Linked DNA regions of Homo sapiens: region 1 is linked to region 2. Evidence: promoter capture Hi-C in human tissues and cell types (Jung and others, 2019). All regions are on one chromosome and are shown on one strand. Each heading gives the region's core, a stretch centred on a gene start or on the middle of the fragment in contact. The rest is flanking DNA. Distances are from core to core; before and after follow the strand shown.

Region 1 (4,508 bases), core at 2,009-4,508, 1.2 Mb after region 2:
ACCCAGACCTGCCACTTGGTAGCTGTAAGACCTTGAACAAATTATTATACTTAAGTGTTTTATACCTCATTTTCTCATCTATGACGGGGGAAGGGCGAAATCAGAGCAATAGCTATCCCAGCGTTAAGGAGACAATATATACACAATCCTCTGCACTGACAACATATGTGGGATACAGAATGAGCATTCAAAAAATGTAGCTATTATATGTCACAAATTATAATTTTTAATGTTTGCATTACAAATAACTGAAGAGTAGAGTAATGATAGTAAGCACTCAAATATATAAAAAGCTTCAAAATCCCACAAGTAATGTGACATTTCTTTTTCTTTTGAAAGCTGGCTGACAATCCAGACACTGACACCTCAATCACTGATTTGTAACCAATGGTCAGATCACAATTCAAGATACAGCTTGCCACATTACTGCTTATTTTCTGACTAAATATCTGAAATAGCAGAGTCACAAACACAGCAAAGCTTTAACATCCTGAAAATGAATCAAGAAATGTATTTTCTCTATAATGCCCAAGTAATAAGCCCACTTTTCAGTTGAATGGATAAAACAGAATCTGTTGATTTTAATAACACCACTAATTAGACTGTCCTACTTAGTCCTCTTTTTCTCTCATAAGTTAAAATGAATCTTTAAGAAGATTTTATTCATTTTTATTTGCACACTAGCTATAACTATAAGGACTCTGGAAATTACCTCCTGAAATTCAGGTACGATACTATTCACATAATTTAAATGTATAAAATCTCCAAAGAGAAGAAATACTTACCCAACTTGTGCTACTTCCTTGAGTTTTGGTAAAAAGTAAAGATGAACCCTGCAACACCGCCCAAGAAGACAACCAGTTCTTTCTGTAATTATAAAGATGACCGATTAAAGCTCCAATCTCGAGTTCTTTCAGCCAAATTCAAAAAATTAAGACCTACTTAGCTCTTATCAATGTTATCTACAATTTACAGCCTTGTTGACATTTTAATTGTTTTTATTGGGGATAGATACTAATGCAATTTACAGTCATTTTATGGTTCAAACCTGATCATGAAGGCCCCAAAACAAATGAAGTTAATCAGAGAAGTTATCAGAAATAACTATGAATGAATGACGCATGTAATTATGTTCACGTGAAATTAATACAGCACTTTGTGATCAAAGACACTAATTTATTTTAAAGTCACACAAGTGGAATATTGTATTTATCAAGAATTCTTACTTAGAAGTAAAAATTAGACAAACACGCTTCCCTCACTCACCTAATTCTTTATACAGACTGTGTTACATTTCTTGGTGATCTGCCTTCCCCTAATTGGGCTGGAGTACTCAGGTAGTAGGTACTAGGTGCATTACAGGCATACAATGAATTGTACACTGATAGACCACACGACATTTAAAAACAAAATGTTTCCTCCATCACAAAAGCAACACATATACGGTATGCAAAAACTCTGAAAACAAAAATGTGTAAAGGAAAGGGAATCCCATTTCTTCTTCAATCCATACTCTAGAGGTAACCAATGTTAAGACTTTGGTATAATATGGGGCTTTTAAAGAAACTGTCCACTTATCTACTATCCTATCTCCAGATACAGAGGTACGCCTCACACAGCATATGTATTATCAGTTCACCCATTTAGAACTTTAAAGCTTTTGAATATTACACCCCAGCCAGATTCCCCTCAACTTCTCCCTTATCATATTAGAGATTTTTATGTAAATGTTTCTCTCTCATAGGAATTGTAAATTATTTGAAAAAACAAAACAGTTTTTATTTTTATTTTTTATCTGCCTCAGGCCTAGCACAGTACTTTTCAAACAGCAGGTATGAATCAGTGTTTACAAGTAGGAAAATAAATTAAAATTACCCTATATAAGGACACAGTTGCTAGGAAGATAAATGAATGTCAAATCTGTCTACTGCAGGGATTTATTAAAGCTATCCTTATAGCCAAACATATGGCCAATTTTATAAAAACCTCTAGGCCGGGTGCGGTGGCTCACGCCTGTAATCCCAGCACTTTGGGAGGCCGAGACGGGTGGATCATGAGGTCAGGAGATCGAGACCATCCTGGCTAACATGGTGAAACCTCGTCTCTACTAAAAATACAAAAAATTAGCCAGGCGTGGTGGCGGGCACCTGCAGTCCCAGCTACTCGGGAGGCTGAGGCAGGAGAATGGCGTGAACCCGGGAGGCAGAGCTTGCAGTGAGCCGAGATTGCACCACTGCACTCCAGCCTGGGTGACAGAGTGAGACTCCGTCACCCAGAAAAAAAAACAAAAACAAAAAAAAAACCACCTCTAAAGGAGGTTTATTTTCTGTTTTCAGAATGTAGAATTTAATATCTATCAATAAGACTTACCTTTTTTTAAATTACTTTTTATGTCTAGTTGAACTTTATGGATTAAGATAAGTGAAATAAAGTTAATTACTACTAGTGAAATAAAGTTAATTACTACTAAGTTTCTATGTTTCCATTTATTTCCTGTATTTTTTTGCTTATGTTTGTTAATGCTACTTTATTTGGTAAATGGTGATTCCTAATAATTACATCTTCACTGTGGACTTCTGCACATGCTTTACCATTTTAAATACTACTTTCATAATGCTTTATGCTCTCTCCCTAGGATGAACTTTGCTACTGATATCCCTAGTCTTGCTTTACTTTCTATACCTTTGACACACCTTATTGCTTTTTTTTTTCAACTTTTCTGAATCATCTTTAGGTGTTTCTTTTACATATAGAATTTAGTTAAGTTTTGCTTTTTTATGCTTCAGTCTGAGCACCTTTTTCTTTCAATAGATGAGTAGTCCATTTACATTTACTGATATTGATATTATAGATGGTGCTTTTTCTGTCATCATTATTTCATTTTCTGGATCTGAAGATATTTTGGAAGTATTTTAATTTTTTGTAAATTCATTTTATATTCTCAGTCTTCTATTTCTTTAGATATCATCTACTGACTCCCTACTATGAAAAATACTTAAATTAGCCTATTTCCACTTTAAGTAAGCTTTTTTAGTTCAATTTTCAAAATGAGAAAAACTGTAGAACTAGTAGATATATATCTGAGAACAAATATTGAATACATAAATAGTAAAATAACGATTATTGCCTCAAGGACTAAGCACTTGCGTGACTTAGTTGCAAGGTGAATTAGTCACATTTTTTTTTCCTGGAACCCCATTTTTTCTCCTGAAAAAACAACTGATGTACATACTATAGTTATTCAGACCTGGATATGTGGCACACAAACATTATCTTAAAAATAAATGAAGTTTTCAAAGAAAACAAATAATATTATTTATAGACAACAAAAAATTAAAACTTTCAACATGAGGCTGGGCATGGTAGCTCACGCCTGCAATCCTAGCACTTTGGGAGGCCAAGACGGGCGGATCACCTGAGGTCAGGAGTTCAAGACCAGCCTGGTCAAAATGGTGAAACCCCGTCTCTACTAAAAATACAAAAATTAGCCACGCGTAGTGGCACATGCCTGTAATCCCAGCTACTTGGGAGGCTGAGGCAGGAGAATTGCTTGAATCTGGGAGGCGGAGGTTGCAGTGACCCAAGATCGCACCACTGCACTCCAGCCTGGGCGAGAGAGCAAGACTCTGTCTCAAAAACAACAACAACAACAACAACAACAAAACTTTCAACATGAATGAACCTCAAGGACATTATGCCAAGCAAAATAAACCAGTCACAAAAGTTATACATATAACATATCATTCCACCAATACAAAATATCTAAGGTAGTCAAAATCACAGAAACAGCAGAAAGGTTACCAAGGGCTGGGGGATGGAGGAAGAGGGAATTAGTAGGTATAGAGTTTCAGCGTTATGAGATGAAAAGGTTTTAGAGATCTGTTGCACAACAATGTGAATATACTTAACACCACTGAGATGTACACTTAAAAATGGTTAAGATAGCAAACTTATGTATTTTTTTACCACCATAAAAAAAATTGAAGCTTTCAAACAGAAAGTAGAACTTTGGAACACCTGGCATCTGCTACAATGGATTTGACAACGTCCCAATACTTTTCTGACAGTACTGATGTATGATTCTTTGATATTATAAATAAAATGTGTAAACATTTGAGAAATGAGCAAAGTTAGTGAACTAGTATTTTACAAATGACCTACAAGATATTATAAAATTAAGCATGGGCAAAGATTCACTCAGGTGCAACAAAGACCAACGGCTTTTAATGTAACTGAGTATGAACCGTTCACCGGCAGTTTTTCAGAGTCTTCACTACAACTAACCCTCAACAAACTACCATTTGTAGAGTTTCGGAGCAGCAGGAAAATGCACAATTATCTGAACATATCTTAAAACATTCCTCCATTTTCCACCTTTAGTTGTGAAAAGGATTTTTTTCACATACTTCAAACAAAATAATATGTCACAACAGACTGCAAGCAGAGATGAAAATTCATCTGTTTTCCATTAAGCCAAACACTAAAGATTTACAAAAAAATGTAAAACA
Region 2 (4,674 bases), core at 121-2,620:
GAGGACAAAGCCTCATGAAAGGAGGAAAGCACCTGGGGGAGCAGAGGGACAATAAAGAGGCCCCCATAGAATCGTCTGAAATGGGAGTAGGATCAAGAGCGCTGTCTCCTGCTGCCTACTGATTTTCCACAATCTCCTCCCCTCTTAAAATAATGTCTTCCCCAAACACAACAGCCTTGCTGGGATGGGGTGAAGTGAAATTTCTGACAACTACTCGGGATCCTGAACTTGATGTTCTTACATATGTTCATCCCGTGTCATTTTCTGCACTTGCCTGGAAACTTCTCTAGTCATTAGTTTCTCTCCCTGGGGCTGGATTCCTGCATTGAAAGGCTAGGCCCAAAACAGGGATAAGTAGTCATCAGCAAGGCCACCGCACCGAGTAACAAGCAGGGCTTTAAGGTGACTAAGCAATAAGATAAGGAACTGCATTGCATGAGGGGCATGTACATTACAAACGTGAATAGCAAGCGTGGGCAAACCAGGCCCGCTTTTGTATGTAAAGTTTTATTGAAACATAGCTACTCTCATCATTTGGTAATATATTGTTGGTGGCTGATTTCCTGCTGCAGTGGCAGAGTTGAGTAGCTGTGTTAGAGGCTGTATAGACCACAAAGCCTAACATATTATTATCTGGCCCTTTTCAGAGAGATCATGCCAGTCCGTGGTGTACAGCATTGTGCTAAGCTGTGAGGGACAGACAAACGAGGTTTAAGATGCAGAGCTTAGGCTGGGCATGGTGGCCCACACCTGTAATCTCAGCACTTTGTGAGGGTGAAAAGGGCAAATTGCTTGAAGCCAGGAGTTTGAGACCAGCCTGGGCAACAAAGGTAGACCTCTGTCACTACAAAATACACAAAAATTAGCCAGGCATAGTGGTGTGTGACTGTGGTCCCACCTGTTTGGGAGGCTGAGGTGGGAGGATCTTTTAAGGCTGGGAGGTTGAGGCTGTTGTGAGTTGTGATTGTGCCACTGCACTCCAGCCTGGGCAACAGAGTGACATCCTGTTTCAAAAAAAAAAAAAAAGATGCAGAGCTTACAAATAAGGTTGGTTTCCATCCTCTGCCTTAGAATGTTAACTGATCTCAAACAAGTCAAAACAAAACCCGTAGCAATGATAACCCCAAGCATCATGTTCTACATCCTTCAAGAACCTGCCATTGCTGGTTCTCAGGGACAGGTGGCTTCATAAGAGTAATTTAGGTCTTACTGAAAAGGCAGATTCCTGGTGCCTGCCGCAGAGGCTGACTTCTCAGTTGAGTCTGCGGAAGAAACACTGCTCCACTTAGTCGGTGACAGGCAGCTCAGGGGAGCGTCCTGCATCCCCTGAAGCCATGTCTGATTCTAACAAGGCTCGAGTAATCCTTTCCTAGCTCAAGAACCTTTCTTTAGAGTGTTAGAGAAAGAAAAATTCTTAGTCCTTTGTTTCTCACCACCTAGAGATGCTAGAATTCTACTTCTTGGCACTAAAAGCTATATCATCCTGCACGCTTGTGTTCTGAAGCAGGTGCTAACTCTCTTCTGGGCCTTAATACCTCTCGTTTTTTCTCTTTTCCTCTCAACAACTGTCCTCACTACACAACTTGGCCAGGGCCTCCCGTCCAAGTGAGAGCTCTTCTCTAAGGCAACAGTCTGCAAACTTTATCACAAATTCCATTAATAAAGTTAAGCATGTATCCTCTTTAGATGTATATTAAATTATAAATCACACTTCTGTACCTCTGTACTAATATGCTACATAAATTATCAACATACACAAAACTAAAATCTGAAAATGAATGAGAGGTGAAATTAACATTAAAAATTAATTAACAGCACATTTCTTTGCTATAGTTATATTGTTAATTAATAAAATATTGTCAAAGGAGGGCCACAAAAGAAATAAAAAATTTTTATGTATAATTAACATGATTTCATTGTTTTTTAAAAATTTGGCTTAACACTTTGTGACTCAATAAAGAGCTAGTTTGAAGGTCCATTTATTTCTGTGTTCAGATTTAATGACACATTTGAAATGAATTCTCATTGGAATATGTAGATCTCAGTATAAGTTTGTTGTTAGTTGTACCTAACTAATTATTGTATTTTATTAAATTCCATCTGCAAATAATGCAAAGATCTTGTTGAAATCTAGTTTTAAGTTTATATAGTATTACATTGTGTAGATATAACATATTTAGCCAATTCCATATTGACTCACACTTAAGGTATTTTTTTCTTCTATGATAAACATATTACAATTAGTAATCTTGTACATTTGTCATTTGTACATTTGCAAGAATATCTGTAGGATACATTCCTGGAAATTGAATTGCTGGGTTAAGGACTGTAATTTTGTAATTTTGCTAGATATTGCCAAATTGCCTTCCACGTGGGCTTGTATGACGAAGATGGCTAGCATACCCTATTACCAAAGGTTAAGATATTTGCTAATATTAGAGATGAAACATAATTTGTCAGCAAAGTTTCAATTTCAGCTTCCCTTATTTCAAGCTGTCTGAGCATCTTTTCTTATCTTCAGAAGCCATTTGTGGACTTTTTTCTCTCTCTCTCTCTCTTTTTTTTTTTTTTTAATTGAGACAGAGTCTCCCTCTGTTGTCCAGGCTGGAGCTCAGTAGTGTGATCTCGGCTCATTGCAACCTCCACCTCGCAGGTTGAAGCGATTCTCGTGCCTCAGCCTCCCGAGTAGCTGGTATTACAGGCATGTGCCCCCACGCCCAGATAATTTTTGTATTTTTAGTAGAGATGGTGTTTCACCATGTCTGCCAGACTGGTCTCAAACTCCTGATCTCAAGCAATCTGCTCGCCTCAACCTCCCAAAGTGCTGAAATTATAGGCATGATCCACGGCATCTGGCCTGTGTGCTTTTTCTTGTGAATTGTCTATAATACGAGAAAATACATAGGTTTTTCTTCAAACATCTTTTTCAAAGTGCTTTGAAATAGGAATTTTATAGTCAATGAGAAAATAGAGACAGATTGTCTTTTTTTTCAAAAATGCTTGTTTAGCAAGTTTTCGGATACATAGTAAATATACAAAAGCCATTTCTATTCTTATATACTAGGAATCAAAATATTTTAGATTCTTCTAAAATAAAAAATATCATTTACAACAGCACACACAAGAATATGACGTACTTAAATGTAAACCTAACAAAATCTGTGCAGGATATATATTCTGACAACTGTAAGACAGATGAAAAACTAAAGAAGACCTAAGTGGAAAAGAAATACCATGTTCCTGAATTTAAAAATTCTATGTTGTTAAGATTTAATCTATAGATTTAATGGAATTCCAATTAAAATCCCAGAAAATTGTTTTGAAAATATCAATAAGATGATCTTAAAACTTATACGGAAGGGCAAATGGACTACAATAAACAAAACTATTCAGAAAAAGAACAAAATTGAAGGACTCATTCTACATGATTTTAAGACAATATAAAGCTGTAGTAATCAAGAGAGAATGATATTGGTGGGAAGATAGACCCATAGACCAGTGGAACAGAAGAGAGAACCCAGAAATAGATCTATGAATATTTAGTCAACAACATTTTTTATAAAGATGCTAATTAAATTCAATGGAAAAATGATGTTCTTTTCACCAAATGGTACTAAAATAAGACTGTCTATGCTCAAAACACATGTTCAAAACCAACAAAATAAAAGAAGGCATATTGAAGAATACATACCTTATATCTCATATAAAAATTAATCTAAAATGGATCAAAGACATAAAAGTAAAAAATGAAACTATGAAATTCTATAAGTAAACATAGAAAATCAGCAGGACTTGGGTTTGGCAATAACATTTTAGACACAACAACAAAAGCACAATCCATGAAAGAAAAAAAAAACGTTTAGTTGGACTTGATCAAAATTAAAAATGTTTGCTCTTTGAAAGACACTGTTAAGAGAATGAAAAGACTAGCTACAGACTGGAAGAAATATTTATAAATCACATGTCTGATGAAAGCCTTGTATTCAGAATATATAAAGAACTCTTAAAATTTTACCATAAGCAAACATATGACCCAATTAAAAAATGGGCAACTGATTTAAGCAGACGCTTCATCATATAAGAAATCCAAATGACAAATAAGCATATGAAAAGATGATCAATATCATTGTCACCAGGGAAGTATAAATTAAAACCACAATTAGATATCACTTCTCACTGATTAGAATTGCTAAAATCAATCAGACGACACCAAATGATGATGAAGACAGAGAACCGTAAGAATTCCCATTTATCACTGGTGGAAATGCAAAGTGGTACAGTCACTTTGGAAAACGGTTTGGCAGTTTCTTATAAAGTTAAACACAGACTTATATAAATCAACAATCACACGCCTAGGTATTTAATCAAGTGAATCAGAAACTTACGTTCACACAAAAACAAGCTAACCAATGTTTATAGCAACTTTATTCATAATCACTAAAAAATGGAAGCAACCAAGATGACCTTCAACAGGCAAATATATTTAAAAACCGGGATCTAGCCATACAATGGAATACTACTCAGCAATGAAAGGAATGAGCTATTTGATTCCTGCAACAATGTGGATGAATCTTAAATGCATTTTGCTAAATAAAAGAAGCCAGACCCAGAAGACTACATGTTATATAATTCCAGGCGTATGACATTATGGAAAAGGCAAAACTGTGGGGATGG

The links. Contacts are between HindIII fragments. The study calls those that stand out against the background at their distance.
Region 1: a contact is called between a fragment that was not itself captured here and the fragment with the promoter of LYZL2 in region 2, in 1 of the 25 tissues and cell types used here (dorsolateral prefrontal cortex).

Annotation. Positions count from the first base shown.
Region 1 is chr10:31,825,519-31,830,026 of GRCh38, forward strand. It overlaps ARHGAP12 (Rho GTPase activating protein 12), which reads right to left. Exons shown (of 20, transcript NM_018287.7): 11 at 786-867. Among named protein-coding and RNA genes, the nearest start is that of ARHGAP12, 100 kb to the right of the region's middle. The HindIII fragment of the contact is 4,381 bases long and covers 1,069-4,508 here.
Region 2 is chr10:30,628,383-30,633,056 of GRCh38, forward strand. It overlaps LYZL2 (lysozyme like 2), which reads right to left and starts at 1,371. Exons shown (of 5, transcript NM_183058.3): 1 at 1,211-1,371. The HindIII fragment of the contact is 10,435 bases long and covers 1-4,674 here.